Regions from separate parts of the Homo sapiens genome. Here regions 2, 3 and 4 are each linked to region 1. The links are contacts of gene promoters, found by promoter capture Hi-C in blood cells and fetal thymus (Javierre and others, 2016). All regions are on one chromosome and are shown on one strand. Each heading gives the region's core, a stretch centred on a gene start or on the middle of the fragment in contact. The rest is flanking DNA. Distances are from core to core; before and after follow the strand shown. Region 1 holds the start of RAP1GDS1 (Rap1 GTPase-GDP dissociation stimulator 1). Region 2 holds the start of CENPE (centromere protein E). Region 3 holds the start of SMARCAD1 (SNF2 related chromatin remodeling ATPase with DExD box 1). Region 4 overlaps BMPR1B (bone morphogenetic protein receptor type 1B).

What was found. The method cuts DNA at HindIII sites, captures the fragments that hold promoters and counts their contacts. A CHiCAGO score of 5 or more calls a contact.
Region 2: a contact is called between a fragment that was not itself captured here and the fragment with the promoter of RAP1GDS1 in region 1, in 1 of 17 cell types (total B cells). The highest score is 5.6, in total B cells.
Region 3: a contact is called between the fragment with the promoter of SMARCAD1 here and the fragment with the promoter of RAP1GDS1 in region 1, in 9 of 17 cell types (naive CD8 T cells, fetal thymus, non-activated CD4 T cells and 6 more). The highest score is 23.5, in naive CD8 T cells.
Region 4: a contact is called between a fragment that was not itself captured here and the fragment with the promoter of RAP1GDS1 in region 1, in 4 of 17 cell types (total CD4 T cells, fetal thymus, naive CD4 T cells and 1 more). The highest score is 11.1, in total CD4 T cells.

What each region holds. Positions count from the first base shown.
Region 1 is chr4:98,259,666-98,263,356 of GRCh38, reverse strand. It overlaps RAP1GDS1 (Rap1 GTPase-GDP dissociation stimulator 1), which reads right to left and starts at 1,973. Exons shown (of 15, transcript NM_001100427.2): 1 at 1,788-1,973. The coding sequence starts at 1,791. RefSeq lists silencers at 1,683-1,752, 1,853-2,152 and enhancers at 2,119-2,681, 2,433-2,732. The HindIII fragment of the contact is 4,992 bases long and covers 661-3,691 here.
Region 2 is chr4:103,195,034-103,198,724 of GRCh38, reverse strand. CENPE (centromere protein E) reads left to right here and starts at 382. Exons shown (of 49, transcript NM_001813.3): 1 at 382-461; 2 at 1,875-1,966; 3 at 2,473-2,562; 4 at 2,687-2,805; 5 at 3,492-3,611. The coding sequence starts at 406. RefSeq lists an enhancer at 1-520. The HindIII fragment of the contact is 637 bases long and covers 1,337-1,973 here.
Region 3 is chr4:94,206,150-94,209,840 of GRCh38, reverse strand. SMARCAD1 (SNF2 related chromatin remodeling ATPase with DExD box 1) reads right to left here and starts at 1,976. Exons shown (of 24, transcript NM_020159.5): 1 at 1,771-1,976; 2 at 1,257-1,495. The coding sequence starts at 1,446. SMARCAD1-DT (SMARCAD1 divergent transcript) reads left to right here and starts at 2,285. Exons shown (of 9, transcript NR_125922.1): 1 at 2,285-2,311. RefSeq lists enhancers at 1,396-1,899, 1,998-2,357. The HindIII fragment of the contact is 2,630 bases long and covers 1-2,535 here.
Region 4 is chr4:95,157,566-95,161,256 of GRCh38, reverse strand. It overlaps BMPR1B (bone morphogenetic protein receptor type 1B), which reads right to left. Exons shown (of 13, transcript NM_001203.3): 13 at 2,809-3,691. Among named protein-coding and RNA genes, the nearest start is that of UNC5C, 390 kb to the left of the region's middle. The HindIII fragment of the contact is 3,321 bases long and covers 59-3,379 here.

The sequences.
Region 1 (3,691 bases), core at 724-3,223:
TTTCCACTGAAAAAGTACGGATTTAACATGTAAGCTAAAATGTTAAATGGATTGTTTAAGGCTCACCTGGAAACATGGGAAAATATATTTTGCAAGCCAAACTTGAACTTACAGTCCAATATCAGATAGGGTTATTGGACATACTGTATATTTCCTTTGAACATACACACACTTATCTGTGTATGTATGTTCAAAGGAATTTTATTTCAAAGTGTATTTTATCTGTGTATGTTCAAAGGGAACACACATAAACGTGTGTATGTTCGACGGAAATATACAGCTTGTCCAATAATCTGATATAATACCTATTTAAAAATCTACTTTAAGAGAAAGGCAGACACGCATAAATGGGCCACCCAATTTTTACAGAAATTTGTTCAGCATATCGAGTACTCACGTTAAAAAGAAAAAACAACTGAAAATAAAATTCAGAGCCCTAGACCTTTTTTGATTCATACCACCTCCTCCGTCAACCCTGGCCTCTTCCAGATATATGGCCAAAGGTCGGGATCAAAGCCTGAAGCATTTGCTGTTCCAGAAAACTCTATGGACACCATTCCCAGGTTTAGATACTTCTTGAAGATTCTGAGTTGCACCACCTAACTCTGAACGTGTTGAGCACTGTATTAACAGATGAAAGGACCACATTCATCTCAAGCTTTAAATAACTCGCACAGAAGGGGTGGGAAAAGTCCCAGCTGACAGATGCCAAGGGAGCAAATTTTAAAAAGAGGAAATTATGACAGACAGGAGTGGAAGCAAACTGGGGAACTTAGTACAAGTCGCTACTATTAAAAGAAACTTTGAGCTCTTAATTACATGACAGCATTCATCAGACGTTTCTGTGATTACTGAATGTAACAGTTAAGCAATAGATGATGTAAAAAAATTAGGTCAAATGTATATATCGTTTTATAAAACATATTTGCTCTTAAATCTCTCATCCAAACCAATCTCTTCAGATTAACTATAAATACAAAGGAACTAAAATCAGATTATGCAGATTAGACAGGAGGAAGCTGGGAAAGAATAACTACCATGTAAGTTCGGTAACAACGTTACAGGGCGCAGTTTCCTGCTACAGAAGACGGACGAAGGAATCCAGAAAATAGGCTGGGCACGGGAATATTGCACACTGTAGTCACCCAGCACTAATTCAACAGCTAGCGGCTCTATCCTGCCTCACGTTCCTCGTGGCCTCTGACAAGTCATCCTTTCAACCTATGAGGCTGTCCGCTCTCCCCCTTGGAAAATAATTTCCGTGCAGGTTGTAAGATCTCCCTCACAAACTACTTGCTTCCACTTCCCCGCCCGGGATGAGGAGTCTCCACGACGGGGAAAGGTCGCACTGACAGAGAAGGAAGTTACACGAAGTGGTAGTGGTCGGACCCGAGCCTCGAGCTCAGTACACGCGGGGGAAAAGGAAGCGGGCGGCCTCTGGAGAAACGGGGATGGAGCTGCAGATGCGAGCCCGCGAGGCAGGCTCCGTGGTGCCCGGGCACCGGCAGGAAGAATGGAGGAGGGGAGGCGAGGCTGCGAGGTGCCGGGGAGCCGGGCGGCGGTCCGGCCCGCGGCCGACCCCACCCCAGCCCGCGCTCGGGACCCTCCCAGCCCCGGCACCCGGCGTGCGTTCCGCGTGCGCCGACTCTCCCCGGAGGAACAGCCACCGTCTCACACCCGGGGACTGGAGAAATCCGGCAACTTTGCGCGAGAAATGCTTCCCACCCTGCAGCACGCCGAGAAAGAAAAAAATGTCAGGCGATGACGGCGGAGGAAGGATGACTTACCCATGTTGCTCCCCGAGGGTGAGGAACCGGCGGGGCGAGGCGAAGGTCTGTGGTGCGGGCGGCGCGGCTCTGTGTCCTCCCTCTACCTCCGTCTCTCCCGCAGCCAGGGAGGGACCCGCGGGGGGCGGCCGCCGGGGAGGAGCAGCTGGTGCTGCTGCAGGCGGCGCGGCCGCGGCGGGGACGAGCGGCGGGGGGCGGGGCGGGGCGGGGCGGGGCGGGACTGGCGGGCGCAGCCTGCGGCGGGCGCGGCTCCGAGCGGGCGGGCGGCGGAGGCGCGGGAGCCGGCCTGAAGAGCTCCGGCCCCGACTCGCAGCCCACGAGCGCCCCGCCCTCCCCACCGAGCATGCTCAGTGCCTTTTCCACCCCTCCCTCTGTGGCGAGCGAGGCTAAGCGTGCGGGTGGGCGTGTGTTTGCAGACCGGCTGCAGCCGCGGCAGAGGATCTTCATGGCGGCCGCCTGAGAGGCGGAGGGCGGGCCCGGAGAAAACAGGGAATGGGGATATTGAGCCCGATCTGCTAGCAGAGGACTCACCGCTGCCTTGCTTTCCCACCCTGACCCACCAACCCCTCACCCGGAACCCGGGCTTGCCTTCTTTACGGGACGACCGGGCCGCACAGGCCGGAATTAACCGGAGAAGAGGCTGGGCCGCCGCAGAGCCGGGAGGGGTGGTGGGAAGCCAGAGCTGACGAAGTTGGAAAGGACGTGTAGGCGACTAGGCCTGCGCCTCTTGGGGACACCTGAGGACGCCCGCTGGGCAGCTGGCTGAGGAGGGGCCGCCGGGAGGGCGCTCGATAGCAGGCGTGTCATTGGGACACTTAAGGCTGCTCTAGCTGTGGCCAGCTTAGAAACAAAGGTCCCGGCAGCGAGGAGAGCGCCCGCCCCAGGATTTCCTCGAAGAGTGTGTCGTTCTCCCTCCCGGAGGAGCGCGGCCTTCCGTTCCCCGGAGGGCTCTGGAAAGGCCCTTTAACCGGGGTGCCGTCGGGCTCCATCCTGCTGTGAAAGCGGGAGGAACTACGTTCCCCAGGCTTGAAAATAAGCGTCCTGCTGGGTTGGCTGCGGCACTGCCAAAGCTAACCCGGCGGAGGTCCTTTGATCCCGGGGCCACCGCCCGCTCCCACCACCACCTCGGCCTCGGGGAGAACCTGAGCAGGGCTCTCCCACTGAGGGCGTCCTCCCGACTGGGCATGCACGTGAGGCCGGGGCTGGCTTCGGTCCTCTTCCCTGGGGTAGGAGGCTGGAGGAAACCGATTTCTCTGCACCCTAATCTTGCCCTGGCTCCTCCTGAGTGGGGTGAGGAATCTGGTCGCTCTCCAAGGCTACAGCGACCGGAGTCCTTCAGGGGACACTGTGCAGTCAGCAGTACAACCTGTTGGAGAAAGATGGCTGAATCGAGGTGTCTTTCCCCTGTCAACTTTCACTCGGTCAATCCAATGTTGAGAAAGGGCTTTTTTTGTTTGTTTGTTAATTAGTCGCCTATTCTCACAGTCATCAGTTTCTGCTTGGTGACTAGTATTTCGAGCACACAAATCAGAAGCGACCCTGTAATTTGTTAAGCAAAGAGCAGATTTTATGTGATTTTTCTACAGCAAGAAACGATAATTAAAAAGGTTTGGTAAAACAGGAAAATACAATTTAACTGCTGAAGTCAAATATATGGGACTTTTCTGATGCATGAGACTATCAGGCACCTCACTCTTAGGATGTTCTTCTTGTTTGCCTCTTAAAATAATCGCACTACATTAGTTCCCTAGGGCTGCCGTAACATACCACAAATTGGGTGACTTAAAACAACAAATTATTATCTCACAATTCTGGAGGCCAGAAGTTTGAAATCAAGGTGTAGGCAGGGCTGTACTCCCTCTGAGGGCACTGGGGAGGGATCTCGTCCATGCCTCTCCTAGCTT
Region 2 (3,691 bases), core at 406-2,905, 4.9 Mb before region 1:
GTGAAAAATACATGTATCTCTACCTAGTTTCGTCTACAGGTTCCAAACTTTTTAAGGATGGGGTGGAGGATGACGTTCGCTAGCTTTTGGCAGATAATAGTATTCTGGTATTCCAGGACCACCACTCTCTGCCCACTCCTGGGAGCCCCTCCCTTCGGCCCTCTCCTCCGACTCTCTGCTGGGCCCTTTAAATCCCCTCTCCTGTTTAGCAGTGGTCACGCCGCCCGCCTTGCGTCCCCCGCGCTGCTCCGCACGTGGAATGGCCCATGACGTCACGAGGCCACGGCTCAATCAGATGCGGCGTTTGGGAAATTTTAAATTTAAAGGCGGGGCGGCCTGTGAGCCCTGAAGTGCCGGCCGCGGAGGGTCCTGGCCATTTTCCTGGGACCAGTTCAGCCTGATAGGATGGCGGAGGAAGGAGCCGTGGCCGTCTGCGTGCGAGTGCGGCCGCTGAACAGCAGGTAGGGGGGCCACACCACGGCCCGGTGCCCGCTGGGCCTGCGGCGCCGCCCTGAGCCGGAGGGGCGAGGCCTACGATGTTTCCAGGAGCCGCTGCTTCCCGGCTCTGCTGTCTAGTGACTCGGCTGCTGGCCATCGTTTCAGGGTCTGTAAAGTGACAGGGGAGGATCGGAGATCTAGAAGATACTTTCCAGCTGCGAGATTCACTTAAATTTAACTCAGTCTCGCTGACATACAGACCTTCCCTTCTGTGCTGCTCTGCCTTGCGGCATCTGCTCCTCCCTGCCCCATTCCCCGCCTAGAGAAGTCGTATGGGACCGTGCCTTCCTGGCCCTCATCACAGTTAGTCATTTTACACCTAACTGCTGTCTCCAGACCCTCTGAAGACAAGGGCTAGTCTGTCTTGTCACATTACATTCAATCGTCACTCAAGATCATTCTACAAATATTTATCAATTTTTTTTTAGTGACTTTGTACAACACAGACACTCCCGTCATTGCCCAGTGGCTCTTCCATTCTAATGGGACGAGACAGAAAGTAAAGTTGAAAATGTAGGATGTTAAGTGGTGATATGTAGGTAATAAGTGCTAGGGAGAAAAAGCAGGAAGAGGAATAAATGAAATCGGTTTGCTTCACTAGCTTCTGGCCCTCGACCCGAAATGCTAACACTTTGTGTGTGTGAGAAATTTTTATTGAACACGGGGTTTAATAAATGCAAATACCAAGATCAGGAATTTCCTATTTTTGAGGAGCTCATTATCTAATGCCTTAAACGGCTACATAAAGAAACCATTAGGATACCTTTTGACAAGTGTTATGATGGGCAGGTAGAGAATGTTTGCTAGAGGAGTTATTAGCCCATCAGAGACGAAAGCTTCCCGTGGGGTGAACTGGTGTCAGAAAAGTCTTGACGCTTTTCATGAGTGAAATAATCCCTATGTTACTTAATGGAAAGGGAAGTCAGAGTATTCCAGGCACAGAGAGGTTACATCTGTCATTTGGGGAAGACCTTCAGGTAGAGCTTAGGATGTATCTAGGAATTCAGAGGAAAATGGAAGAGAGAAATGACATGATCTAGGACTCGTGCCCTGCTGAGGATTTCATAAGTTTCCAAAAGGTTTTAAGAATTTTAAGCAAGACAGACATAATCAGAGTTGCATTTTGAATCCATCCCTTTGTTTACCAGTACTGGGGGAGAGGGTGAGAATGAAAGCCTTCACAAGAAAACACTTTTGAGGCGGCAGAAGGTCACTGAAGCTCCATTTAAGAGTTGAATCCTCAAAGATGGACTTTCTGTCATTCTCTTATGTTACTATCTTTCAAAATATTCTTTAGCAGGTGAAATCTTTTCAATTATTCCTCCTATGACATGACTTTTATGACTGGTTAAAATGCGGTGTTTTTATTCTTTTAGAGAAGAATCACTTGGAGAAACTGCCCAAGTTTACTGGAAAACTGACAATAATGTCATTTATCAAGTTGATGGAAGTAAATCCTTCAATTTTGGTAAGCTTATAATAGCATCAAAAGTTACCTTGTTATCCTTTTGCTATTAAAAGTACAAAAGGCTTATCAATAATATTAGATTTGTCACTAAAGATTAGACTAAGCCTTCTATAAACTGCTTCACTGGAAACAAAATTGTTTATCCATCATGTATTTAAGTAAGGTAACCAATTGGCATTTAAAACAGTTATAATCACAGTTATCTAATTTGCATCTAGGTAGATTCCAGACCCCCATGTGCAAACACTATACCTTATTGCCTCTTGAAAGAACATAGAAAAGTTGACTTGTAGTGTATTTTTTGTGTGTGAAAATGAACTCATTTTACCTTAGGGAAGGGTATTTTCAGAGAACCAAAAAGTTGAAAAAAATACTGTGTCTTAAATAGTTGATCATCCTACATTCTGACAGTTTTACTTTTGGGAATAATTACTAATTTGGAATGAAAACACAGTGGACTCATTTGATTTAACTTCTGTGTTGTTGTTGTTGTTGTTGTTGTTTAGATCGTGTCTTTCATGGTAATGAAACTACCAAAAATGTGTATGAAGAAATAGCAGCACCAATCATCGATTCTGCCATACAAGGCTACAATGGTTTGTATTCACTCAATGCTGCAGAAACATTTTAGTCTTGGGCGTCTGTGCAACAAGCATGCATAGTTTTACCCATTATAGGTTTGTTTTTAATCTTTGCGTATGTGTGTTTTGTTTTTTGCAGGTACTATATTTGCCTATGGACAGACTGCTTCAGGAAAAACATATACCATGATGGGTTCAGAAGATCATTTGGGAGTTATACCCAGGGCAATTCATGACATTTTCCAAAAAATTAAGAAGGTAAGTAACTTAACTGGATTTCTAGTACGTACAGGTAAAACTAGTAAAAACTGGGTACCAGTCTTAGTGTATTTCTCTTGTAAAGATGAAAGGAAGTAGATTTACAGTTATTGTTTGATTATCCATGGGGAAAGAAGAAAGGCATAGCATAGATTCACTTTTATCTCCACAACTTACTTTATAAAGCTTAAAGTTCTTTTATTCTTTCTCTTGAATTCTGCAACAATAATACTCTCAACAAAAAGTAGGCATTAAGGAACAAGAAAATGTTATCAGAATGGTTAGCTCCACCTAACCATTTAACTATCAGTGATTATAAAGGAACAGTAGAAAGTGGATGTAGGTAAAAAAAGAAGGGAAGCAGAAAGCCAGAATAGGCAACCGAGTTAGTTGGTTTCAAATTAGCATTTTTATTAAAATAAGAACATCTTTTGAGAGGGTTTTATTTTGAGCCTAGAGTTTGAGCCTAGAGTTGGTGTTCTCCCAGCTTTATGGTACTTCACTTTTCATTATTTCTGTAACGATGCTTTTATATTTTTGTGTTCATTATTTTGTCAACAGTAGAACCAAGGGGTTTCTTAGTTTGTTTTACATACATTTTACCTCTTTAAGCACATGAGCATTTAGCATTAGGTTTTCACAATTGGATGCTTCCTGGTGTTTTTATATAATTTTTTTTCTTCTAGTTTCCTGATAGGGAATTTCTCTTACGTGTATCTTACATGGAAATATACAATGAAACCATTACAGATTTACTCTGTGGCACTCAAAAAATGAAACCTTTAATTATTCGAGAAGATGTCAATGTGAGTAGCAGACTTAAGGGAGCTTTAAAATTGACTGACTTATTGAGATTATTGTTCTTGAATGTTTACCTTTAATTTCT
Region 3 (3,691 bases), core at 727-3,226, 4.1 Mb after region 1:
AATACCTGGATGTCAAATATCTATTCAAAGAGTGAACACAGGGATTAAAATCCTGGTGCTTAAAATCCTTCAGTTGTTCCCTATAGCATTTAAATTCAAAACTACTTAGACAAAGCCTTTGTAAATCTGACTCCTAATCCAATCTACCAAATCATTCTGCCAATTTCCAATTACACCAAAGTATTTAAAAATGTTATTCTAATGATAACTTGCAGAGGATCTGCCATCATTATTACATTTAAGTAGAAGGGTGGCAAACAAAAAGATACCAAGGATAAACATGTGTGTTACCAATCTTTCAGGCTACATTAAGTTAAAAGCTGTTTACGAAACAGAGTTTTGCATAAAAAAAGATATTACTGAAATAAATATTAAAATATAACTTCCAACATTCCTTTCACCTTTCCTAAGAAACTAACTAATTAGTTTATGCTCAGGAATCATACTGCCAGGACTTGAGTTCAGGCTCTACCAAGTTCCTAATAACCTCTCTGAATCTCATTTCACATTAACCTCTATGTCAGTAATATCTACCTTGTAGGATTATTGTGCAAATTAAATGACAGAAGGTGAAGCACTTATCACTATTCCTATAATACAACAAGAGCTCAAATATATTCCTCTAATAGTTAACTGTTCAATGAACATAGATTCGAGTGGAAATCTTAATTTTTGGCTTATCCTCAAATACTTTTGTCTCTGACAATCTGCTGATGAGGTTAAAAATGTTCATTCACCATGAAGAATACCAATTACTCATTTGCATTCTGAGGACATCCAGGAAGTCAGGTGGATGCAAGAACTTGATGTGATCTGATCTTCCCTTGTGTACAGAGGTTGTCTTTAGGCACCTTGCTCAATGTCTAGCTCACAGTAGATGATCAATATTTTGAGGGAATACTGGAATGAATGAAAATGTCTGCCCAAATAGCCTCAAAGTTTATCATAGGACTGAATCACTGACATCGCTCTTCCAATAGCAACCGTTCTGACCTATGGATGCCCTAAATTCTAATTTCAACTTCCACCATGGGGCCATATTCGAAGAACTCATATAAAAGTGAGGCGACAATGGATGGATGCTCAGTTGAGGGTACATGGTGCTTATGGCAGTCCCAAAGCTGTATTTAAAAGGGCACACCGCAGGACAATGCATCAATATATATGACATCAAGAATAAAAATGAGAATCCCTTCTGCCTTTCATCTTTTAAAAACTGTCCTTGATGTTACATCAATTTTAACATTGTAACTCACCTGTTTTTTCAGTTATATCTGAATCAGGAGTGTTTGCCCTGCTAACTTCCCCTTCAGCATTCTCCTCTTCAGCACTAAGAGAAATTGGTGAAGAAGGGCCAGGCTGGGAAGGTTGAGGGGTTGCTTCGGGCGCTTCCTCAATCTTATTCCTTTTCTCAAAGCGAAAACGGTCCAGGTTGAAAAGATTCATATTGGTAGAAAGCACCACCTTGCAGGGATGGGGGCTTTAAATGAACTATCTGCAGGGGAAAAATAAAGAGAGGAAAAAAGGCCATGAAAACAATATACGATACAATGCCACAGCAGTTTATTCCCAAGGCAATAAAGGGCCCGCAAACATGCCAGTGGCTCAGGACTGTTATGGCTGCGCTTCATTGTTAGGCCGCAACAATTAGAAGGTGGACGGGGGTATCTTTTAAAATTTTCCATTGCTTTTCACTCCCCTTCGTCCGCCTCCCCCGCCCGCCCCTCCTTACTGAAACCACGAGCTGACCCTCATGCAACCTCCTCTTACCCAAGCACGCGCAGGCACGTTCCCCAGTATAACCCCCTAGCGGGCCTCGCGCCCGCCCACAAAGAGAAGCTCCCTGTGCTACCGTGCCCCCTGCCTCGAGAAAGGACCTGCCAGGGCCCGCGCCTCGACACTGCGGGGACACAAAGGGGCCAAAGAAGGGGAGCGGCGGAGGCCGTGCTGGCGGGCATCCGCCCGGAAGTTGACGCGGCGCGATCCCAGCTGAGAGGAAGCTGATAGGATTAAGAACACACAGGAAGGTTCAGAGGTGGAGTGCATGCTAAGGCATCTTTTTAACGTTCAATCGCTCGCTTGTTCTTTCTTCCCTCAGTACTTACGATCTTGTAGCCTCAGTGCTATGTAACAAAGGTTGAAAATAAAAAAAAAATTTCCTAGCGTGGGGCGACGGTAGCCGTGCCGGGACCTTCCAAAACACCACGGAGAAACCTTAAGAGCGCGTAATGATGACGCAACACGCAGCCTAGGCTTTTTCTTCCCAAACAACGCGCGAGCCGACAATGTCGAGGCGCGCGCTGTTGTCATGGTAATTCGTACCCGTCTCCGCCGGCTTGTAAGGGCCAGATTGTTCTGTACCTTTGTCCTGTTAAATTATCTAGAGAGTTATTAAATAGAACAATAGTAAATAGCATAATGACAAAAAATAACAATATATAATACAATTAGTATATATTGTATGTATTATAATCTGTAGTGTTTCACCTATAATATAATGTAGATAGCATAATAGTAATAATACTGTGCTAAGCTTTTTCAGTGTATAATCCCAATCCTTACAAGAAGCCTATGTTTACAAAGCAAAGAAACTGAGACCTGCAAATGTATAGGTAATTAGTGACGGATAAGAACCCCGGGATGCTGAGCTTCAAAGCATTTAAAGTAATTCCTCACTTTCGGCTTGATTGTTCTTAGAATGGAATTTGATTAATTAATTAATTTTTTAAAAATATTTTAATTTTTAATGTTTGCGGGTACATAGTAGGTGTACATATTTATAGGGTACATGAGATATTTTGATACAGGCATGCAATGTGTAATAATCATATCAGGGTAAGTGGGGTATCCATAACAAGCATTTATCCTTTGTGTTTCAAACAATCCAGTTATTTTAGTCATTTAAAAATGTACAATAAGCTGGGAGTGGTGGCTCACGCCTGTAATCCCAGCACTTTGGGGGGCTGAGGCAGGTGAATCACAAGGTCAGGAGTTTGAGACCAGCCTAGCCAACATGGTGAAACTCCGTCTCTGCTAAATATACAAAAAATTAGCCGGGCGTAGTGGCGGGCGCCTGTAATCTCAGCTAATCGGGAGGCTGAGGCAGGAGAATAGCTTGAACCTGGGATGCGGAGGTTGCAGTTAGCCGAGATCACTCCACTGCACTCCACCCTGGGCAACAAAGCAAGACTCTTGTCTCAAAAAAAAAAGTACAATAAATTGTTGTTGACTGTAGTCATGCTATTGTGCTATCAAATACTAGATCTTATTCATTCAAACTGTATTTTCGTACCCATTAACCATGCTCACCGACCACCGGGGTCCTCCCCCGCCCCACACTACCCTTCCCAGCCTCTGGTAGCCATCGTTCTACCGTTTCTCATACGTTCAATTGTTTTAATTTTTTAGCTCCCACAAATATAATAAATGAGAACATACCAAGTTTTTTTTCTGTGCCTGCCTTATTTCCTTTAATATAATGACCTCCAGTTCCATCCATGTTGCAAATGACAGGATCTCATTTTTTTTAATGGCGAAATAATACTCCACTGTGTATATGCACCACATTTTTCTTATTCATTCACCTGTTAATGGACACTTAAGTTGCTTCCAAATCTTGGCTGTTGTGAATAGTGCTGCAACAAACATGAGAATGCAGATATCATTTCGATACACTGATTTCCTTTCTTTT
Region 4 (3,691 bases), core at 470-2,969, 3.1 Mb after region 1:
CTTCTGAGAGTGCAGTCATCTGTACTTTGCTGCTGTGACCAGATGGAGACAACAAGCTTGCAACTTACAAAATGACCAATGCCAACAAAATAACCTTTTTTCCTCAGCTGAGATTTACTGTCAGTATGCCTGTGAGTTCTGCGAAAAGTTTAACTTGAGCCCATGACACACAGAAGTGGGGTGTACAGAAGGTGGGAGAGATGTACCAATAGCAAATCTCAGCTGGTTTTAAATGTTGCTAATTGTAGATCCTGCTAAACTAATGGCAGGAAGAAAAAGCAGCATTGGCCAGGCACAGTGGCTCACGCCTGTAATCCCAGGACTTTGGAAGGCTAAGATGGGGAGATCACTTGAGCCCTGGAGTTTGGGACCAGCCTAGGAAACATAGTGAGGACTTGTCCCTACTAAACATAAAATTAGCCAGCCATGGTGGTGCATGCTTGTAGTCCCAGCTACTTGGGAGGCTGAGATGGGAGTCACTTGAGCCCAGGAGATCGAGGCTGCAGTGAGCTATGATCATGCCACTGCACTCCAGCCTGGGCAAGACAGAGTGAGACCTTGTCAAAAAAAAAAAAGAAAGAAAGAAAGAAAAAAAGAAAAAGAAGAAAGAAAGAAAGAAGGGAAGGGAAGGGAGGGAGGGAAGGAGGGAGGAAGGGAGGGAGGAAGGAGGGAGGAAGGGAGGGAGGGAAGGAAGGAAGGAGGGAGGGAAGGAAGGAAGGGAGGGAGGGAGGGAGGGAGGGAGGGAGGGAAAGAAAGAAAAGAAAAGAAAAGAAAGAAAGAAAAAAAAGAAAACAGAGGAAGGAAAGAAAGAAAAGAAAGAAAGGGGAAAGAGCAGTATTTCTGAGCACCTGTGATGTACCTGGCATGGGCCCTCACATAATTCAGACACTCATCTTATTGGTTCCTCACAAGAGCGCGAAGAGGTGGGAATTTACAGGTGGGAAGACTGGGCTCAGATTATGTACTTCCAAAGAATGAAAAAAGTGGAAAATGGTGGAATTTAAGCAGGTCAGTCTGAATTCCAGCATCAGGATGCACTCTTTTGACACAAGTGCAGCTGGCTAACCACCACCAATCTCACGCAAACTCTTCATTCTCTCTGCGTCAGACGCAAACCTTCCTGCACTCTCCACTCCCCAGACAATTTTGGGCTTCCCTGGTCCTGATCCAATCTCCAATGGATCCCCTCACAAACCAAACTTCTCATTCTGCCCTCCAGGGTCCACAATGCTTGGAACAATAGCCCTAACACATTCCCTCCCCTTTCGCAGAGGTGACAATTCAGGGGCAGCAGCAACAGCCTCCTCCTTCCACATCTCAAATACTCCACAGCTGGGAGGCAGGTGGGGTCTTTCTCATACAAAACTGCTGATTCCAGATTATTGCATTAAAAACTCAATGCTTTGCATGTCAGGCCTCCCGGCTCAGCTGGCCAGCCCCTCTCTCTGCCTCTCACTGCCTGCGTCCCTTCCCATTCTCCTGTGGCACTGGAGAATTTTGCCTCACAACCTTCCTCTCCCAAGACTGCCACCTTCAAAATCCACGAAGACAACAAATCTAAAGGCCAGGATTTGGGTTCCTCTTTCATCACCAACAATGTTGCCTATGAATTAAATTCACCCCCTCCTGCGATCACACTCTCAGCTGCTCCCCCTCTGAAATCTGACCACAGCCTCTCTCTCAGTAACTGTGGAGATACCACCTCCGCCCCCGCCCCATCAGGATTCCCTGTCCTGGGACCTGGGTTTTTGTTTTGTTTTGTTTTGTTTTTTGTTTTTTTTTTTTTGGTCTGTTAGCTCCTCTAATTAATTCCTTCCCTCCTCTGGTCCATCAGCCCCTTGATAGTAATAATTCTTACCTTCCATGACCTGTTGCTGCGTTTGCATGATAAACCAGTACCCTGAATGAATCCTATCTTCGTTGTCTCTATACCTGTATTTGGGTTGCTGACAAAAAGATAAAAAAAATCATAAACCACAAGAAAAGTGGCACTATGAATTTCTGTTAATACTATAGTTGAGCACTTACCACATGCTTGGTGCATGGATTATGTCATTTCATCTTCAGAACAACTCCAGATAGTGGATATTAACATCATTCTCATCTTCAAGGGGAAGAAACATCTTCAAGGGGAAGAAACTGACCACAGCCCCTCTCTCAGTAACTGCGGAGATACCACCTCCGCCCCATCAGGATTCCCTGTCCTGGGACCTGGGTTTTTTGTTCGTTTGTTTGTTTGTTTGTTGGTCTGTTAGCTCCTCTAATTAATTCCTTCCCTCCTCTGGCCCATCAGCCCCTTGATAGTAATAATTCTTACTTTCCATGACCTGTTGCTGCATTTGCATGATAAAGAGGTCAAAATGTGCCCAGTCACACAACTGAGGGAGTGAGGGAAGCTGGATTCACACCAACAGGCCACCTGGCAGTCCCAAGTCTACGCTTGGCCACTGTGCCACAGTCAGCTTCAGGAAGCCTAACCTGGCCCTCAGAGTTGCCCGTAACCATCTGGCTCTTTCCCCATCAAGCTGTAATTTTCCAGTGCAATTTTAAACCTTCTTCACTTCTCTTAAACCACTGACTTCCCTGCCTTTCCCCTCACTCTCAGTAGATGACTGTGTTTCCTTCACAAAGAAAGTAGAAGCCATCAGACCATTTCTCTTGTCCTCCTGCCATGAAATGTGAAAAACTTACCTGCATCTGCCTCCTTCATGGTGCCTTCCCACCTGCTACAATGGGATATTTTCAAAGATAATAAATAAATAAATAAATAAATAAATAAATAAGCACAACTATAACATAACAGTCATGTTTTTTTCCAAGGGGAGAATGAAGCCATTTTATTTAGGGGAATGTTAAAACAAAGCCATATACAATCTGTAACAAATACAATACAATTGTTTGTTCCCTAGTCCTGAATAATTACAGTATATACAAAATCTGTAAGGCACTGGTTCCCCCAAAAGAACAAATGAGTCTTCTTGTGAAACAGACAACGAAACCCCTATATTGCCAACTTTTCTCCAAAAAATATGGCATTGTTTTTTTGTTTTGTTTTACAAGAGGAATCACAATTGCTAAATTAAGTCACTTCTGATGCCATTTCTTTCATTTCCACTGCTATGTGTCTGGGTTTTCTAAGGCAATGTAACTACTGAACATGTTCAAGTTTAAAAAACTATACTTCTCTCAGTGCCGTTCCACCCACAAACAAAGAAGAATCAGATCAGACCAACAACATAAAACTTCTAATGAATATGTATGACTGTAGGAACATGAAATTCAGTCATTATTAAGTACTTGCTATACTTGACTACACACCAATTGAAATGTGTCAAAGAATTCCCTGTAAATAAAATCTCAGCATGTTTTCTAAGAAGCTTTCTGTTTGGGGAATTCAAAAATGGGCACTAATGACTTTTGAGCAGTGCTTTCCAGGAGGTCAAAGGCCTGTTTCCTCATACATAATGGTCATAGCACTCTTTTTGTGATTTAACAATCTACACACTTTTATAAATAAATATTATGTTTCATTTAGTACTTTATCATCCATAATATCTTACTCTCTAATCCACATAATGGAGTTGTGCCAGACTCCAAACTGAACATAATATTTATATATACATATATATTTATATATATACACACATACATAAACTATAAACCTGAATATCTTAGCATACAAAACTTATCT